7 separate regions of the Homo sapiens genome follow, and all the other regions are linked to region 1. The links are contacts of gene promoters, found by promoter capture Hi-C in blood cells and fetal thymus (Javierre and others, 2016). All regions are on one chromosome and are shown on one strand. The core of a region is centred on a gene start or on the middle of the fragment in contact, and the rest is flanking DNA. Distances in the headings are between cores, read along the strand shown.

Region 1 (2,940 bases), core at 363-2,862:
GTTGTTATTGTTTGAGACAGGGTCTCACTCTGCCACCCATACTAGAGGGCAGTAGTACAATCTCGGCTCACTGCAACCTCCACCTCCCGGGTTCAAGCGATTCTCCTGCCTCAGCCTCCTGAGTAGCTGGGACTACAGGCATGTGCCACCGTGTCCCGCTAATTTTTGTATTTTTGGTAGAGATGAGGCTTCACCATGTTGGCCAGGCTGGTTTTGAACTCCTGATCTCAAGTAATCCACCCACCCTGGCCTCCCAAAGTACTGGGATTACAGGCATGAGCCACTGCACCCGGACTTAAAGTGGTTTTTAAAAAGTGCCGTGTGAGACTTCCAAATAGTACTCACGGGGAGGGAAATGAAAGGAGAGGATTGGGGAAGAAACACCTTCTATTTTTTTTTTTTTTTTTTTTTTTTAGAGACAGGGTCTTGCTCTGTCACCCAGGCTGCAGCCTGGACCTCTTGGGCTCAAGGGATCCTCCCACCTTAGCCTCCTGTGTAGCTGGGACCACAGGCGTGCACCGCCACACCCAGCTAATTTTTTTTATTTTTTTGCAGAGATGGGGTCTCTCTATGTTGCCCAGGCTGGCCTCAAACTCCTGGGCTCAAGTGATCCTCCCTTCTCGGCCTCCCAAAGTACTGGGATTACAGGGGTGAGCCACCTCACCTGTACAGCTTCTTTGGAGAATGGGCCTGGGCAGGTCAAACAGGGGCCACTCTACACCATCATGGCACAGCAAGAGCTGGGCTATGTAGGTTCAGTATTCTTTGTCATTTAATCCTTGTGACGACCTCGTGTCATCATTGCTGTTTTACAGATAAGGAACTGAGGCTCAGAGAGGTTCAGTGTCACAGCTAGCATTTCACTTACATATCACAGAGCAAAGGCTCTCTTTGTCCAGAGACAACGTGCCTTTAGGTGATAGAGCTAGGACTGGAACCCAAGTCTATCTGACTCAAAGTCCACACAGCTTGTCCCCCATCCCGCAGGGACCTCTCCACGCTAGTGAGCCCCACGAAACCCCCTCAGTGCTTCGTTCCAGTCTTTTACCTTCAAGCCCAGTCAGCGAGTTCTTTATTTCCACAAATGGTGCTATTAAACTAATGGCTTCGGGAGCTATAGGCTGGCCTCGGCACAGTTACACATCTCTCCACCCACCATGTTCTGGCTTCCAAATAAATACATTGGAAATTCCAGGAGCCGAAGCCCATTTGGAAACGTTTCCGGGCCACCATTTTGCTTTGGGATGGGCAAGAAGAGACACCCTAAACTTGAACTCCTGTCTGTGCAGCCTCCAGCCGGCCAGGCGCTAAATAAGGCCACGGCCCGTTTCCTCCTTCAAAAGTCCCTTGTAAAGGGCGATAGCAGACCCCATCAGGCAAAAAGCTGAGAAGCCAGGGTTGAAATAGAGGCCTCTTTCTGTTTGGTCAATCAGCAGCTGCAAAGGATGCGTAGGATGGAGCTAAATTTATTTGTTCCTTTCTTTCTCAGCAACAGCGACGAGGCCCGAGGTGCAGCTGTCTCGCCTCGCCTGTCTTTTGCAGGCACCGGCATGCACAGAAGATGGCTCTCCGGGAGGAAGATTCCTTTCCATTTTGTTCTCTCTCTGCCTCCGCAAGGCTCGCAGCCACCTCTCGGGAGTGCAGGGCCAGATCCTGTGCCAGCGGGTAGGAATATGTAGCTGCCTCCCAGCCCCAGGGTGGAAATCATGACCTTTGAGAAGCAGGCAAGCTGCACGGCATAGATACTCAGGCCTGGTGAAGGCAAAGTGGGGCCACACCCTAGAAAAACCACAAAAGTCCCCACAGCCTCTGCTTTCACTAGTCAGACCTGTGGGAAACTTGTAAGACACAGTCCATGTGATCGGCGGGTGGGGGCATGTTGGGAGGGGCCTTCCGAAGGCCACAGCCAGGCTGGCAGGGCAGAGTCCTTTCCAGAATTTATCTGTTTGCTTAAAGCCCAGCGGAGGGGCCACCTTCAGTCAACCCTCCAGCATACTGGTCCAAGTAGTTTTTTCAAAGTGCTTTGTGAGACTTTCAAAAGGTACCCATGGGGAGGGAAGTGAGAGGAGGAGGAGGGGACGGTGAAGAAACAGCTTCTTTATTTCTAGCCTTGCTTGAATGGCTTCTTGACGGTTACTGCTCCAGTTTTGCTGAGTCAGAAGAATCCCACAGCCGCTCACCGGAAACACAGCTGTTGGGCAAAAATAACCACAGAGCTGAGCATCATGCACCTTCCAGAAAAGATGGCAGAAAACCTCAAAACAAAAGAGAAATACAAAACAATAGGAGACACTGTCAAGAAAAAAAAAACAAAAACAAAAACCACCGCAGCTCACTAACCGATCCAAGCTGGTGGCGCTCTCCTGATCTCTCTCCACTCCCAGGCCCAGCAACGGCTCTGAAATAAAGCTAAGTTTGGCTATATATATATATATATATATATATATATATATATATATATATATATATATATGTATGTATATGTATATATATATATTTAGATAGAGTCTTCCTCTGTCGCCCAGGCTGGAATGCAGTGGCGCGCTCTCGGCTCGCTGCAACCTCTGCCTCCTGGGTTCAAGTGATTCTCCTGCCTCAGCCTTCCGACTAGCTGGGATTACAGGTGCGCCACCACGCCCAGCTAATTTTTGTATTTTTAGTAGAGACGAGGTTTCGCCATGTTGGCCAGGCTGGTCTCGAACTCCTGACCTCAAGTGATCCGCCCACCTCGGCCTCCCAAAGTCTTGGGATTACAGGTGTGAACCATCACATCTGGCCTACTTTTACACTGTAGTGGGTTTAATAGTGTCTCCCCAGTCACACCTCCACCAAAAAAAGAAAAGATATGTCCACAGTCTAATGTGCTGCAGCACCTGTGAATGTGACCTTAATGGAGAAAGGATCTTTGCAGGTGTAAATTAATTTTAGGATCTCAAGATT
Region 2 (2,785 bases), core at 85-2,584, 260 kb before region 1:
TTTTGTTTAAGGATTCTAAACAGTCTCTTTAATACAGAAAGACCTCTTAACCTGCCCTTCACACCAGTTGTTATGAACGCATGAGGCTTCATTGAAGCAGTAGCAAAGATCTGTAATTACAAGCACTAACAAGGGAATGAACTCAAAGGAATGTTTTTTCCCACTTGTATGTGTCAGGCCATGAGCTTAGCACTTTCTGATTTCTTTACATTGTGCCTGGTGCCTGGTTACCAACAGATTCTTAGCAGAGAATCATATTTACTATTAATCTGTATCTTTTTCCAGCTATACCAGAATATTAACATCCATTGGCCTCATTGGCATCAATGGCCAGGTAAAAGATTGTCAAAGGAAAAGGAGGGACCTATGTATAAAGAAATAGATAATAGATGATAGACAGATGGATGGAAGAGTAGATAGATAGTAGGCGAAGAGAGATGGATGGATGATGGAGGTCAGATGAATGGATGAATAAATGATGGAAAATGGATGGATGGGTAGATGGATGGAGGATGGAAGATGGATGATGGAGGGATGGAGGATGAAGGATGAGTGGATGGAGGATGAAGGATGGGTGGGTGGATGGATAATGGATGGATGGATGGATAGATGATGGATGGATGGATGGATGGATGGATGAAAGGATGGATGAATGGATGAATGGGTAGATGAATGATGGATGGATGAATGGATGGATGAATGGGCAGACAGAACTATTCAAAGCAAAGAAACTTTAAACATACTATCCAGGTGTCAGTGAGTAATTTTTCTTTCCATTTCTTCAGTTTTCCATTGAATCAAGGACAGTGGCAGGGCACATTGGATATCTATGAAACAAGAATGGCACAGCCCTTCTGGCTATCGCAGTGGACTCTGTATCTGGAGCTCATCAGATGAGGTCCAAAGTCTGTAAGAAACCAACAGGAGGAGCTGAAGCAGGCTAGATCCCAGTCTGTTAGGGAAGCTGGAGAAAGGGTCAGTGTGGCGGCTGCATGCACCAAGTAAACACAGAGGTTCTGCTAACTTGAAGGATTGGTTTGATACTGTGATGCTTGAGTTTTGTTTTCCTTCCCACAGTATTACTTAATGGATGTAATTTAATGGGTGCCAAAAGTCTCCAAATCTCTCTTCCCTACTAGAAGGAAATGCCTTAAATTCTCACCATTCCATTCACATTTTTTTAATTCAAAAAGCTTTTTGCTTTATTAGATTATAAAAATAACATTAACAAGTAAATAAATAAGATAAAATGAGAGAGCAAAAGGAAAAGAAACGCAAGCTCTCCATTAAATATTCAAACAATATGGAAGAATATTAATGAGCAAGTGAAAATGACCTACAATTCCATCATTCCATGATATGCACTACTAACATGTTGAAAAATATCTAATGAAGCAATAAAAGCAGCATATTTAAAGATCTACCATGCTCCAGGCACTGGATTACAGGGGACAATGTTTGTCCTTTGGGACTTCATAAGCTTCTGAAGGAAACAAATGAGGTATTATAAGTGTGATGAGTGTTTTGCAACTTGTTTTCTGCACTCAACAACGTGTCATAGGCATCTTCGTGTGTGTGTGTGTGTGTATGTGTATGCATATATCAGGGATGAAAATATCACTAAGTATTTATCAACTTTTCACCTATTCTTTCTTCTAAAGAAGATTCTGCCTTTGCCTCCCTAATCCCTAGACCTTTTGTTGGACCCATCAGGGACTGGAGAAGCTAAGAGTGAGTACATTGACTTGCAATTTGCACAAGGAAGGACCTGAAGCCACCTGGGGTAGAACAGAGTAGATCAAAAAGGGAGTAAGGCCAGGCATAATGGCTCATGCCTGTAATCCCAACTCTTTGGGAGGCTGAGGCAGAAGGATCACTTGAGCCCAGGAGTTTGAGCTTGCAGTGAGCTATGATGGTGTCACTGCACTCCAGCCTGGGCAACAGAGCAAGACCGTCATCATTACAAAAATTAAAAAAAAAAAAATTAGGCATGGTGGCACCTGATTGTGGTCCTAGCCTCTCAGGAGGCTGAGGTGTGAGCCCAGGAGTTCCAGGTTGCAGCGAGGTATGATGGCACCACTGTACTCCAGGCTGGGCCATACAACAAGACCCTGTCTCTTACAATTAAAAAAAAAAGTGGGGAGGAGTGGATGAATGAAGAAGGAAAGAGTGCCTGAAGAAAAGAATATAATAGCCCACACTGAAATTGGGAGGAAATGAGGAGAAGCATTTAAGGAAGTAGCTGTTACAATGAGGGAGACTTGAGGATCGTACGGATTGCTCAAAGAGGCTTCAGTTCAGATATCAATTATTTTCCAATGCTGGTGATTCTTTGGTATGTGATTCTTTGGTTGAGACTGGCCACAGTTTGGCTCATTGTAGTCTGATAGCACATAAAACTACCTCATTCTTTTTGATGGCTGTATAGTGTTCCATTGTGTGAGTGTAAACAAACTTTATTTACTCCTTTCCCTTTAGGCTGAGATGTAGGTCATTAGATCTATTTTTGCTATTAAATATAGACACTGTGATGGACATCTTTCCAAATAGGCTTACTTCTAAAAAGTGAAAGATAGGTAGGTGAATGAAGACAGGGAAATAGGAAAGAAAGGAGAAGAAAGAAAGAAAAAAGAAACAGCAAGAGAAAAAGAAAGAAAGGAAAGAAAGAAAGAAAAAGAAAGAAAGAAAGAAAGAAAGAAAGAGGAAGGAAGGAGGGAAGGAAGGAAGAAAAAACTGTGGTTTATCTATACAACACAATACTACTCATTCACAAAAAAGAATGAAA
Region 3 (2,872 bases), core at 194-2,693, 320 kb before region 1:
CCCAGTCACCCGAGTAGTTGGAATTACAGGTGCACGTCACCACACCTGGCTAATTTTTTTTTTTTATTTTTTGTAAACACAGGGTTTCACCATATTGGTCAGGCTGGTCTCAAATTCCTGGCCTCAAGCATTTGGGCCCCCTCAGCCTCCCAAAGTGTTGGGATAACCAGCGTGAGCCACCATGCTCCGCCTATAATTTATTTTACCCAAAATAAAATGACTCAAATATATTAGAGAATGAAATAGATTCTAAAATATCTCCACTTTGTATGGCTACCAATTAAAATATTCTCTTTGTATCCTTCAGTTTTTCATGACTGCTATCGTATTTCCCCTTATTTGAAACAAAGTTGTCTTTATGACTTATTTTTCTAATTAAGGCTAGATATTTTCTGTTATTAGGTTGAACCATACATTACCTTTTTCAACTACTTTTACCTACAAAAATGGACACTTCATATAAATGAATCTAAAAACTTGCTCAAAATTCATATTAAAAAGAGGAGACGCACTCAATGAAATTATAATTATTCCATTACTGTAATACTTTCCTGATAGAATACAAAATATAAACAGTTTATACCACTATCAAACTCCAAAGAAAAGTAATCATTCCCAAGAGAAAATATTCACAATACTACATTTAATTAGAAAATTAGAAAAACTGTATGGTACCAATTTCATTTACACATAAAACATCTAAAACTCTTTCAGACTTCAGTATTTTTATTTCTTTGTTCTCTCCATATGATGACTGTTTTCCTAATTTTCTAACTTAAATGTAGTGTTTCTGTAATTTTAAAAATATCTAAAAATAATTCAATCTTTGCTTAACTCTTTACCAAAAAATACTTAAGATATTAATTTACACATGCAATCTAAAGCAACTATCCCAAAATTTAAATGCCCTACTCCTTTTTGTTAACTCAGTAACAAAGCCCATGAAAAATAACACAATAATTTAATAAGCTATTTCTAAGAACACTGACGATTTTCTCCGTTGGCATAGATAAATAAATTTATTCTATATTATCAACTAAATAACCCTCATTAGCAGTTGGGTTTGGTTTCCTCATCATTACAAAATTATATGTACCACACTAACAAAGAGCAGACCAAAAAGCTAAAACGTAAGAGATTAATACAGAGAAACAGAAGATGACAGTCAGAAACAATCATGAAAGATAAGAAAGACACTTTTTAAAAAGCTTTATACCTCTCTACTACATAGGGAAAAAAAGTAAAAATATGTTTTCATATTTTAATGGACAAACAAAAATGTTGTAATTATCTTCTAGGTGACATCTTATTTTTAAAATTCTGATAAACAGAATCCAGATGTTCTGAAACTCTAATTTTACCTAAGTTAACTGCTAACTACATAGAACAGGCTTTGAGATGAATGTTAAGTTCTGGGACTTTGCTGATTACCCAGCTAAGCAAGCAATGTCACCCACAATGGTTCTCTTATTTATAGACCAAATACCCTAAAAAATATCAGGATAAAGGTTTGAGCTGAACAGACAAATGGACCATAAAGTAAACAGTTCAATTAGTCCATTGTGGTTTACCGCCCTCTGGCTGCTGTGGCAGGAGATATCACAGATAAAAAATGGCTGCCAAGAAAAACTAGCAAGGTGTCAAGCAAAAGTTGGCAGGAAATCCTTCAGGCAAATGTAAAAGCTTTAGAACAGAGCCTCGAACATACATTACAGTTAGTTTTACTCCTTCCTTTAAAAAAAAAAAACATTAAAAACATCAAGTAACAAAACATTTCAAACACGATCTGAAATTTTTCAGACACAGATTAACACAATATAGTTTGGAGATAATAAAAGATGGTTCTAAGAGACTAAGTCAAAAAGAGTTAATACCCTAACTAAAGATTAGAATTAGTCTTGCTTGAGAAAATCCCTTTGCATACTAAATAGAAACACTTAGATAAAAAGGTAAAAATTTTTACCAGAAATTCAAAGACAACTGATAAAAGTTCCTGCTCATAAAACTGTGGTAAATATATAAAGCAGCACAGAAAAATGAAACTCTTACATTAATTCAGTTTCCAGATATCAGATGCAATCTGAAGCTAAAAATCAGGCAACACCGGAGCCAATGTTTCCTGGAATCACCAAATTACATGAAAAACAGAAATAAAAGCAAAAGAAAATTTGCTACACCCAATTCAGACCAGATCCCATATATTCATCTTTCCTCAAAATACTATTCAATGTAATCTCACAATTTTGTCCAATTAGGCTCAAAACTAAATTTCTGTATCACTCTCCAATTTTCCACCAAAGAGTTCAGCTGGCAGTGAACCATAACAACCACAGTCCAAGGAAAAAAACAGTAACTGTTCAATTCACTGTCTTGTTAGTTACTCACAATTCACTATCATTTAAAAACAGTGGATCTTAGCCTGGTTTCCACCCCACCGCACCCAGGAGACACAATACTCTCATTTAACAGCAGCGGTTCACAAGGTTCTGATTCTCAGCATAACTGGAAAAGGACAAGAGTTAGGAAAAAAAAACAGGGATGGGAGGAAGAGGGGTGAGAATGTTCCTTTTGAGAGAGACATCCATGAAACACTTAAGATCGTTCTTTTAGACAAGTCTTAATAATCTGTTTGAAATTTATCAATGTTCAAAAAAATATGATGCAAATAATTTTTAAGAAAAAAACAGAAACCTTACCCTGCAGTTCATGATGTATTACACCCACTAGGTTGGGTTCATCTCCCCACCAGAATATCCATAACTCTTTGCAATCTGGTTTGACATCACGACGCCATACACAAAGCAGGTTAGCTTGCAGACAGCGGATGAAACTTAACAGAATTGGATCATCTTGGGCTGGGGCTGAAATTATG
Region 4 (2,700 bases), core at 76-2,575, 310 kb before region 1:
TAAGACATAAAACAAATTTGATAATACAGAAAAAAAGAAAACAAAAAGCTGGTTCTTTAAAGATTAGTAAAATTAACAAATGCTCATTAGACTAATCAAGAGGGAAAGAACAGACACACTACCAATATCAGGAAAAAAAAGGGGAGGCATTACCACACATTCTAAAAACACTAAAATGATAGGGGAATTATTACAGACAATTTTTGTGCCAATAAATAAAACTCAGGTTAAATGAACAAAATTCCTTTACCAAATTAACAAAGAAACAGAAAATCTGAACAACTCTATATCTATTAAAGACACAGAGGGCCAGGCGTGATGGCTCACGCCTATAATCCTAACACTTTGGGAGGCCAAGGCAGGTGGATCACCTGAGGTCAGGAGTTCAAAACCAGCCTGGCCAACGTGGTGAAACCCCGTCTGTACTAAAAATACAAAAACTAGCCAGATGTGTTGGTGCGCACCTGTAATCCCAGCTACTTGGGAGGCTGAGGCAGGAGAATATCTTGAACCTGGGTGGGGGAGGGGGGCGGAGGTTGCACTAAGCCAAGATGGCGCCATTGCACTCCAGCCAGGGCAATAACAGCGAAACTCCATCTCAAAAAAAAAAAAAAAAAAAAGACGTGGAATTCATGGTTTCAAACCTTCCCACAAGAAAATCTCCAAGGCAATATAGCTTCACTGGTGAATTCTATCGAACATCTAAGGAAAAAATATCACTAGTCCTGCACAAACTCTTTCAGAAAACAAAGGAGGGACTATTTCCCAAACTATTTTATGACACCAACATTAACCATGATACCAAAACCAAACAGAGATGATAAGAAATGTACACGCCAATATCCTTCATAAACACAGATGAAAAAACCATTAACAAAATATTAGCACATCAAATCTAATAACACGTAATAATAATACCATAAGCTTAAGTAAGGTTTGTCGTGGAATTCAAGCTTAGTTCAACATTTAGAAACCCATCAGTATAATTCACCATATTAAAAGAACAAAACCTATGATCATCTCAATAGATGCAGAAAAAACATTTAACAAAAATCAATACCCACCTTCACGGTTTTTTTTGTTTTTTTTTTTTTTTTTTTTTTTTTTGAGACAGTCTCACTCTGTCACCCAGGCTGGAGTGCAGTGGCGCAATACCTGCTTGCTGCAACCTTTGCCTCCTGGGTTCAAGAGATTCTCGTGCCTCGGCCTCCTGAGTAGCTGAGATTACAGGCGTGTGCCACCATGCCAAGCTAATTTTTTGTATTTTTAGTAGAGACGGGGTTTCGCCACATTGGCCAGGCTGGTCTCGAACCCCTGACCTCAAGTGATCCACCCACCTCGGCCTCCCAAATTGCTGGGATTACAGGTGTGAGCCCAGCCACTTTCACGGTATTTTAAAAACTAAGAATTAAAGAGAACTTTCTCAACCTTACGGGGATATCAGAAAATTCAAAGCTAATGTCAACAATGAGAAGAGTGAATATTTTCTGCCCAAGAACAGGAACAAGGTAAGGATGTACACTCTTACTACTTCTATTCAATACTGCCCTGTAGGTCCTAATCAATGCAATGAAGCAAGAAAAAGTAGTAAAATACAAATTACAAAGAAAGATATAAACCCATCTATAATTGCAGATAACATCATCACGTACGTTTTTTAAAATCCAAGGATTTACAAAAAAAGCTACTACAACTAATAAAGCTTAGGAAAGTTGCAGTATACAGAATCAATATCCAAAAATTAATGGCGTTTCTATAAACTAACAGTAAACATGTCAAAAAATACTCTCAAATGGCCAGGTGCAGTGGCTCACACCTGTAATCCTAGCACTTTGGGAAGTCAAGGCAGGCAGATCACTTTAGGTCAGGAGTTCAAGACCAGCCTGGTCAACATGATGAAACTCTGTCTCTACTAAAAACACAAACAAATTAGCCAGGCATGGTGGCATACACCTGTAATCCCAGCTACCATGATTCTCCTGGCTGAGGCTGGAGAACTGCTTGAACTAGAGAGGCGGAGGTTACAGTCAGCTGAGATCGCACCATTGCACCCAGCCTGGGTGACAGAGTGAGACTCTGTGTCCAAAGGGGGTGGGGGGGAATACTCTAAAATAATAGCCATTAAAACAGCATTGAAAAACACAACTTACTTAGGAATATATCTGATAAAAGTATGTTCCAGATCTATATACTAAGAACTACGGAACAATGTTGAGAGAAATTAAATATCTAGAGAAATGAAGAGCCAGACCATGTTCATGAACTGAAAGATTTAAAATCGTTAAAATGTCAATTTTCCCAATTTGATCTACAGATTCAATACAATCACAAATAAATCCCCACAGAAAAAAAATTTTTAATTGACACGCTGATCCTAAAACTTATATTGAAATGCAAAACACCCAGAAGAATCAATACAATTTTTAAAAGAACAAAGTCGGAGAATTTATCCTAATTTCAAGACATACTATAAAATTTCAGTAATCATCATAGTGTAGTACTGGCATAACAGACATGTAGATCAAAGGAACTGAATATAGAACCCAGAAAAAAGCAATGCACACATAGAGTCCATTAATTTTTAACAAAGATTCTAAGGTCATTCAATAAGTCTTCAACAAATGATGTTTAAATAGTTTGCTAAACGTATGCAAAACAAAACCAGAACTTCAATCCTCACCTCGCACCATGTAAATTAAC
Region 5 (3,001 bases), core at 308-2,807, 340 kb before region 1:
AAGGTGCCTTAAATTCAAAATGCATTAATTAAGTTTCTGGAAAAAATGAGCAACTAGTTATATATCTCAGTCTCCTGGAAGTAACTAACCATGTCTTTCCCAGCACACAACATAGTCGTCTAGCACTCAACACAAGCTCGTTGAATTGAATTATACACTTCCCCTCCTCCTCCAAGTATAAGAGATTCGATAACATAAAGAGATTCAATAGCATAACTATCTAATCAGCCTTTCTCTAATTAAACTTTTGTCAAGTCATTTTCCAAAGTATGTAATTTTTTTTAACCCAGAGGCATTCAATGATCAAGTTTACTTCGTATAATACTTTCTGCAAAAGCCAAAACACAGAATAAAAGATAATAAAATGGGATTTTTTATAGCTCTCAAGAATATCCAATAACCTTCAAATCTAATATTTAACACACTGGCAATTACTGCCCACTCCTTCTAAATATAACAAAGTCAAGGTCAGTTTTTAACTCTGTTCAAAACAACAGACACTCAAAGATTCCTGCAATGCCAACAATTATAATTATGTCAACCAGCCAACATTTACAACAAAAACATGCTTTTTATACCTAACACCCCTTCACCCTACTCTGAGACTCACAGTTCAGTACTCTATGTACTTTCTGGCATTCTCCAGAAATTCGGTCTTCAGGGAAAAGTTTTAACCAGCATTTTTTTTTTTGACACTAACATCAAACTTTTCAGAAAAAGATAAAGAAGTTGTAAATGGCTCTCCATTTTCAAATTTCTTCTCCAAATAACCCAACACAAAATCTGTAATTTAACAGGAGGGCTTATCAGCATTAAGCAAAGCATTTAAGGCAATTTAAGGCAAGCAGTAAAATTTTTTTTTTTTTTGGAGACAAGGTCTTGCTCTGTCACCCAGGCTGGAGTGCAGTGGTGCAATCTCAGCTCACTGCAGCCTCTGCCTCCCAGTCTCAAGTGATCCTCCAGCCTGAGCCACCCCAGCAGCTGGAATTACAGGCATGTGCCACCACACCTGGCTAATTTTTTTTGTATTTTTGTAGAGACAGGATTTCACCATATTGCCCAGGCTGGTCTCAAACTCCTGACCTCAAGTAATCCGCCCACCTTGGCCTCCCAAAGTGCTGGGATTACAGGTGTGAGCCACCACACCCAGCCTATACCGAAATTCTTACAAGTTAGAATGAAAAGTGTCAACGTAAAATAGCCAATTACATACACCATTCTAGTCAGTTCAAAAAATTTTGGAAGCTGACAGAATGTCAATAATAAAGAGACAAGCTTTTTAAATTTTATCTTTCTGTACATAACTGGACTTATTCTTAACTTATATAGTGAATTTTATGAACATCTAATCAAGGAAAGTGAAATAAAGAGGAATACTCGTAAACATAAAGAATTTAAATTATATTCATGTTATTAGTATATATTTCTACATCTTAAAAAATCTAATTAGCATACGTTAAAGGTAAAGATAGGCAGATGCCTATTTTCACCAGTGTTCCAGTATTTTAACTAAAGCTAGATCAGCATTATAAATACAAAAATAAATAAATTTATTTCTGAAGAAAATGTAGACATCTATACTCAATTCATTAATTTTATTAATCTTAAGTAATTTTTAAGATTTCTTTACAAAGAGATGTGAATATAAAGATTAATTCATTGTTTATGTCCACAATGTGGACATTAAAATCCCTGGATCACCATCAAACCTAACTTTCGAAGCATTCATTTATTGTACACATATTAATTGTTTGAAATTTAAAATATACAGTATTTCCCAACCAAATTATTTTGAGAGTAAAATGTCAAAATTGAACCAAAGTCCTATTTAGAAAGTATTCAAGCTTTTAATGCCAAAAGCCATTTTTAAAGAAGTTCTTACCAAAGTAAGTTCAACTGCCAGTTTTTTTGTTTTATTTTGTTTTGTTTCTTGAGACAGAGTCTCGCTCTGTCTCCCAGGCTGGAGTGCAGTGGCATCATCTCGGCTCACTGCAACCTCTGCCTCCCGGGTTCAAGCAATTCTCTGCCTCAGCCTCCCGAGTAGCTGAGATTACAGGTGCGCACCACCATGCCCAGCTAATTTTTGTATTTTTGGTAGAGACAGGGTTTCACCATCTTGGCCAGGCTGGTCTTGAACTCCTGACCTCGTGATCCACCCCGCCTCAGCCTCCCAAAGTGCTGGGATTACAGGTGTGAGCCACCGCACCCAGCCTACCAGTTTTTAAAATGATATAGCAAAACTATCTGTAACACTGCCTAAGTGAACTAAAGCTGTAACAGACTAGCTTAAGCTGTTAATGCCATTATAAACTAATCTTTTCACAAAACATACCAAATAATCATGGGATCAATTAAAATCTCCATAAAATAATAATCTGAATTACTATTTAAATTAATATTTACTTCTTCTAAACTCTATTGCCTCCTACTCGAGATTTCCAAGAGAAAACTATTATTTACATAGCCAACTTCCAGATTCCCACTTCTCTTAGACCATCAAAATACACGCGCTGGATTTTAAAAGAGAACATAGGGCCGGACGTGGTGACTCATGCCTATAATCCCAACACTTTGGGAGGCCGAGGCGGGCAGATCACTTGAGGTCAGAAGTTCAAGACCAGCCTGGCCATTATGGCGAAACCCCATCTCTACTAAAAATACAAAAATTTGCCAGGCATGGTGGTGCTCATTTGTAATCCCAGCTACTTGGGAGGCTGAGGCAGGAGAACCACTTGATCCCGGGAGGCGGAGGTTGCAGTGAGCCGAGATTGTGCCATTGCACTCCAGCCTAGGCAACAGAGCGAGACTCTGTCTCAAAATAAAGGGGCCATAAACAAAAGTTTTTTGCTTTGATATACATATATTGGCAGAGGTTACATTTTATATATGGTCTATTAACCTGAGAATTAATTAACCAAATAAGTTACCAGGTAAAATTTTAGGCATAATACTTAGTCTTATGAAAACCACAGAGTTGGGGGAAAAAACTGTGTGGTTCTGC
Region 6 (2,743 bases), core at 234-2,733, 290 kb before region 1:
CCAGTAAACTGCTACACTATGCCTTAAATTGCTGTCTATTATGTACTTAAAAATATTTACTAGCAATTGGAGGTTAATATGGCAACTATTACCGGGTGGCAATTATTGCTATTAAAAATATATAAATACTGTAACACCATGTGCTACTAACAACAAAATGCTAAACCGAAAACATACATTAACAAATTGTAAATATTTTCATTACAGAAAATGATAGCCAGGCGTAGTGGCTCATGCCTGTAATCCCAGCACTTTGGGAGGCTGAGGCAGGTGGATCACCTGAGGTCGGGAGTTTGAGACCAGCCTGACCAATATGGAGAAACCCCGTCTCTACTAAAAATACAAAATTAGCCGGGCGTGGTGGCACATGCCTGTAATCCCAGGTATTCCGGAGGCTGAGGGAGGAGAATCGCTAGAACCTGGGAGGCAGAGGTTGCAGTGAACTGAGATGGCACCTTTGCACTCCAGCCTGAGCAACAAGGCGAAACTCCGTCTCAAAAAAATAAAAAATAAAAAGAAAGAAAATGAACCATCATGGAAAAAAATGCTTTAAACATAAATTATAAAATCACAATGAACTGGTACAAAAAAATACCTTGTGTATTTTGGCACTTTGAAAATTAGAGAAATCATTCCCTTTTCCTAATTTCCATTTTATAGTCCACCCTATTTTGTTCTAGCGCAAAAAAAAAAAAAATTCAGACTTTCTACATTTACAACTACCTTCCCATTCTGCAAAAAAATCCCTTAAGACAAAAAGAAAGTAGGTCAACAATAGATTACCTTAAAAGCTTCAAATATAGAACTAATGGTCTTCAATAGGAATTATGTACTAATGGGTGTACTAGTGTCTCAATTCAGCAAGAATTTGAGATTATCACCCAATTATCCATAGTCAGGAAGATTCTAAGCAAATAAAACATGAAAGTGGAGCATACATATCTAAGAACTAGAGATCACTCCCTCATATCAAAGAGCACATATTTAAATCTAGTTAAAGGGCACAAAATCACTTTCTCCATATTAACTCAATAGAGAAAAATAAATGTCTACTTAACATCCAGAAATTATGTCTTCTCACAAGAATGAGTTCACATACCATAGGGTGCACTGTTACACTTTTCAAAAAGGCAGATTTAACACACTTTTAACTGAATGATTAACTGAGTGAATATATAAAAAGTCACCCAGAAATGTGATGGACAGCATAAGAAAATAGTTTTGAGTCAGAAAGGCACAGGCAGGCATGCACTTAATGCAGCAGCTACAAATCTCACAGCAGTTAGAATAAGAAACTTATACAATGACCCATATCATATATACACAATGGCATTTTTCACACGTTAGGAAAAGGGAATGGATGCTGAAAAATTAATTTAAGAAATTTGATTCCGTGCAGTAAAAAATCAGAAAATAAGTAAAAGACTAGCAGAAATCTTAAAGTGTCTGATTGATTGCACAATCAACTTTTGGTAAGCCATAATGAACACCTCAAGGTAATGGAAACTGGGTGGGTATTACCACGGTACAGAACTTAATCTCTTATTTCAATCTAACTAATGAGAGTATCTAGGTAAATTCTTTATAAATACTTTTCTCTGCAAAAAAAAACAAAACAAAAAAAAAAAAAACCCTGCAGGCCAAAAGAAAAAAATGCATGCTATTATTAAACCATAAAGCGTTCTTATAAAAAAACATGATTTTGAACAAGTGATTACATCTCCTTCAGAAATAACTATGATATACAATGTACTTTGGGCAACATATTTTTAATATTCCAGGTTGCTACTGCTGTATAGCATTTTCAAAAAAAAAAAATCTCAATTTGGAATCAGAAAAATGTACAAGTCAGCAGTTTAATTAATTTACATTTCTTCAATAGCACCTTATCCACACTCCACGTACAAGAGAATGAAGACATTCTACGTTCCTTTAAAAAAAAAAATCAACTAAGCATTTCTATGGTTCTCTAGTTCAAAGTTGCTACTTAAAAAATAATTCTTTTTAAAAAAGCATATTCAAAAATCAATCCCTTGGTTTAAAGAGGTTTAGGGGAGAAATATCTCAAACACAAACCTTTAGTCATTCAAAATCAAAGTACAGAATCCTCTCCTACAAAATTGCTTCTCCAAAAGAATCTCAAGCATTTTATCTCTGTAACGTTATCATCCTTACTTAAGCTTTAAAAAAAAAAAAAAAAGATAAAAGAAATGATATACCCTAAAGACTGGCTATACATATACTTTCATTTGTCTACAGAATCCGTATATACACAGCCATTACCAGTCAGCATAATATATGATAATTTGGGAGATCGCTCTACTTGGTTATTTTAATTACCTGTAAGTGTCAATGTGGTCACCAGTAACCACACAAAAACCATTTTAAATACCCCTTGATCAATATGTTTGCTAATCTATGGAAGTCCCTGAACCTGACTGATACTAAATGATAAGACTGAGGAGGGAAAAAGTTGAGGCAAAAGGGGGTTTTACTCCCACATACCAAAAAATCAAGGGAAAATTATCACAATACTAAGAGAAAGAATTCCAACTTATAAATGAATTTTAAGATTAAATATCTGGATTAAAATATTTCATTTAAAAAAATTTACCTGATTTTACTAGAGTGGGAGCAATGATACTATGTCTTTGTAGGTAAAAATCACGTGTTGATTTTTTGGTCTGCATTGTAACACATTTAATAAAGTAACACTTTCATTTGAAAAGTTGGCGAGAATTTG
Region 7 (2,760 bases), core at 119-2,618, 360 kb before region 1:
AGTACTAGTCAGTCAGAGAAACACATTTTATTCTATGCAGTAAAGCAAGCTTTGATTTTAAGAGACTATGTAAACCCAATCTCAGCCATTTCTGCTTAAGAAAATCAAAAAGAGAGTTTACACAAAAGTGATACAGCACACTTCACGCACACTTTATTTTTATGTCAAATAGCTTCCTATTGCAATATCCTCATCTGCAAGAAACACTAAGTCCTTATTTAGGAATACTAAATTGTGTCACCCTTGAGGCTTATGCAAGCTTATCATCTGACTTTTAAACATTTTCTATCTCTTAGAAAATACTCTGATCAAATGCCTAGGTTTCTACTTTCAGTAAGCATGTAAAAGCATTAGCACTGATTGCCCTAAAGCACTTTCAGAAAAACAGTTCCCATTTGGTTAAACAGTCATCAAATTTTAAGACCAGGAATCCATACTTTTTAAATGCTACTTTTTTTTTTTAATTCAAACCTATATCAGGAAAAATCATTTTTTGGTCCAGTATCAAAATCTAATCTCCACCCCTCAAGAAATAAAGAAATCTATCTGCCTTAACACCATACTTCCAACATTTAAGAAGCCAATCAATTACAACTAATACCTTTATACACTAAAGAGCATCAGTCAGAAGGACAAATTTTCTCAGGAAAATAATTTCAAGTTCAAGGTTATATGAGCATTTTGGACGTCATACTGTTTTCCACGAAATATAATTTAAATCAGCAGAGAGCCAAAATACATTGTCATGGTTGAAATAAAAGGAGGAAAAGTCCGGGCGCCATGGCTCATGCCTGTAATCCTAGCACTCTGGATGGCCAAGGCAGGAGGATGCTTTTCAAAAAAAAAAAAAAAAGGAGAAGAAGAAGGAAAAAGCAAACATTATTTTAAATAGCCTGTTTTTTAAAAAATTACATGACTAAATTATCTTAGCAACATAAGATTTCTTTAATAAAGTACTACCAATCCCCTGCCTTTTTTTTAATTATCGCATTTCCTTCTTACCCCAGGAAAAAAGTAATAATGGCCACACTGCAGTCATTCAACATTTCCAAAGAACTTTTGTACTTTGTACAATGTTAACAATCTAGTGTACTATAGCCACCTTTCTCATCACACATTGCAAGACATTAATTATATTCACAATAAATTTTCACACTTACTAGTGAAATACCATTTGTAGTTCAAAATAATTTGAAACTTCAAGAAAAACAGGTGAGAAAAATAATCTTTCCTTTCAGGTCTAATTTGTGAAACTTTCAGAATTCATTCAATTAGCAATTGTTCAACTATTGTTGAATTACTTGACAGGGACTATGTTAAAAGTGCTAACAGAAGAATATGTACGTAAACTGTCCTCAATGAGCCTACACCCCACAAGGAGAGAAAAAACACAATAATCAAAGCGTTCTGGTGCATGAAACCAGCAGTAGTACACTAAGTCTATACTAAGCACACTTCAAAGACTTCAAAGACTCACTGTGCCTCAATTTATATTTTAATCAATAAATTTGAATTTTTTAATGATTAAAAATAGTTTATAAAATAAAAGCACTACGCAGCAAGTTAGATTTTTTTAATACAGGGCTAGAGAGGTAGAGAATATCATAATAATTCCTATGACATAGTAGATCGGGTAGCTTTTGTCTTTTTAACTTAAAACAAGAGGGATGGTGTAAGCAAAAGGGCACATCTTCTGGGTTAAAACAGATACAGATCAGATCTGGAGAGAGCAGGTTACAAAAGAAGAACAGTCATCCTCAAGATTACTTAGTAAATACCCATGCTGGCCTTGAAACCATGGGCAAAATTCCAGATTGTAAAAGAAAACTGACTGTACAAAGACTAGGATCAACTGAATATAAAAATACACATCCACTAGTATAATTTTAAAAAGCCCCCATGGGTTGTCATATGAGAGTATCTATCTTTACCCAAGTCTTAACTTTCTTTAAAGTCCTCTATCCCAAATTGAAAATATTATTTGAAAATGTTACACGAAGAAGTATACAAGAAAAGTCTTCTACAAGATTAGATCAGGTAAGCCTATGTACTGTAATACCATATAAATTTTGGTCATTAAGTCCATCCAAATAAGGGTTGTAATAATAAATGAAGAAACCCTGAGATGGATACATTTCCTTAACTAAAAAAGAAATTACAAGGATGAGAGAAAAAGAATAAAAATAGACATTAACCCCGAGAAATAAAAATGACACATGTAGATCAACATCATAAAACATTTGATTTTTAAAAATGGTGATCCAAATATTCAACAAATCTATAAGCTGTGTATAAAGAAAGGTAACTTATGTGCACAGTCAGCAGCATTATTAATGCATTTAATAACACATGTGAAGCAAAGGACATCAAGGAGGCAGGAGGCTTCAGGGGGATCTGTACAGGTGAGCTTTACCTCCCACAATTGTACAGAGTTTTAGGAGCACGTGTATGGGTGCTTTTTTTTCTAGGAGACCATCCAAAGCTTTCTGCAGGTCTTCAAATGGATGAATGATCTGAAAAACCTAAGAGCCATCCATATAAGACTATAAAGTTTCCAACATTACAAATATGTCTTTTTCTTGAAAATGAGCAATATAATACAGTAAGAAAATAAGTTCTAAAAAGAATTAGGTTAAGGGCAAGGTTAAAACAAGCTATCATCAAAACTCCATGAAAGTCTTTTTATGGCATTAAAGAAATATGCTTCATTCTCTTTGTAAGCTGTAAATTTGAAAATTTAAAGTTTTAGGAAACTAAACT

What was found. Contacts are between HindIII fragments. The CHiCAGO score rates a contact against its expected background, and 5 or more counts as called.
Region 2: a fragment that was not itself captured here is called in contact with the fragment with the promoter of MAP1LC3B2 in region 1 in 4 of 17 cell types (M2 macrophages, total B cells, fetal thymus and 1 more); the score reaches 5.6 in M2 macrophages.
Region 3: a fragment that was not itself captured here is called in contact with the fragment with the promoter of MAP1LC3B2 in region 1 in 9 of 17 cell types (total B cells, naive B cells, non-activated CD4 T cells and 6 more); the score reaches 9.2 in total B cells.
Region 4: a contact is called between a fragment that was not itself captured here and the fragment with the promoter of MAP1LC3B2 in region 1, in 11 of 17 cell types (monocytes, total B cells, fetal thymus and 8 more). The highest score is 11.8, in monocytes.
Region 5: a contact is called between a fragment that was not itself captured here and the fragment with the promoter of MAP1LC3B2 in region 1, in 2 of 17 cell types (naive B cells and monocytes). The highest score is 6.2, in naive B cells.
Region 6: a fragment that was not itself captured here is called in contact with the fragment with the promoter of MAP1LC3B2 in region 1 in 16 of 17 cell types (total B cells, fetal thymus, neutrophils and 13 more); the score reaches 20.8 in total B cells.
Region 7: a contact is called between a fragment that was not itself captured here and the fragment with the promoter of MAP1LC3B2 in region 1, in 5 of 17 cell types (fetal thymus, total B cells, naive B cells and 2 more). The highest score is 7.8, in fetal thymus.

Annotation. Positions count from the first base shown.
Region 1 is chr12:116,557,769-116,560,708 of GRCh38, forward strand. MAP1LC3B2 (microtubule associated protein 1 light chain 3 beta 2) reads left to right here and starts at 1,613. Exons shown (of 2, transcript NM_001085481.3): 1 at 1,613-1,665. RefSeq lists enhancers at 1,108-1,617, 1,457-1,796, 2,017-2,066, 2,107-2,206. The HindIII fragment of the contact is 18,876 bases long and covers 1-2,940 here.
Region 2 is chr12:116,294,975-116,297,759 of GRCh38, forward strand. No RefSeq gene overlaps it. Among named protein-coding and RNA genes, the nearest start is that of MED13L, 19 kb to the left of the region's middle. The HindIII fragment of the contact is 287 bases long and covers 1,192-1,478 here.
Region 3 is chr12:116,234,772-116,237,643 of GRCh38, forward strand. It overlaps MED13L (mediator complex subunit 13L), which reads right to left. Exons shown (of 31, transcript NM_015335.5): 2 at 2,697-2,872. Among named protein-coding and RNA genes, the nearest start is that of MED13L, 41 kb to the right of the region's middle. RefSeq lists an enhancer at 2,404-2,548 and a cis regulatory region at 2,476. The HindIII fragment of the contact is 475 bases long and covers 1,207-1,681 here.
Region 4 is chr12:116,252,673-116,255,372 of GRCh38, forward strand. All of the region lies in intron 1 of MED13L (mediator complex subunit 13L), which reads right to left. Among named protein-coding and RNA genes, the nearest start is that of MED13L, 24 kb to the right of the region's middle. The HindIII fragment of the contact is 749 bases long and covers 952-1,700 here.
Region 5 is chr12:116,217,884-116,220,884 of GRCh38, forward strand. All of the region lies in intron 2 of MED13L (mediator complex subunit 13L), which reads right to left. Among named protein-coding and RNA genes, the nearest start is that of MED13L, 58 kb to the right of the region's middle. The HindIII fragment of the contact is 569 bases long and covers 1,274-1,842 here.
Region 6 is chr12:116,272,808-116,275,550 of GRCh38, forward strand. All of the region lies in intron 1 of MED13L (mediator complex subunit 13L), which reads right to left. Among named protein-coding and RNA genes, the nearest start is that of MED13L, 3.5 kb to the right of the region's middle. The HindIII fragment of the contact is 1,389 bases long and covers 790-2,178 here.
Region 7 is chr12:116,199,243-116,202,002 of GRCh38, forward strand. All of the region lies in intron 2 of MED13L (mediator complex subunit 13L), which reads right to left. Among named protein-coding and RNA genes, the nearest start is that of MIR620, 52 kb to the left of the region's middle. The HindIII fragment of the contact is 2,223 bases long and covers 258-2,480 here.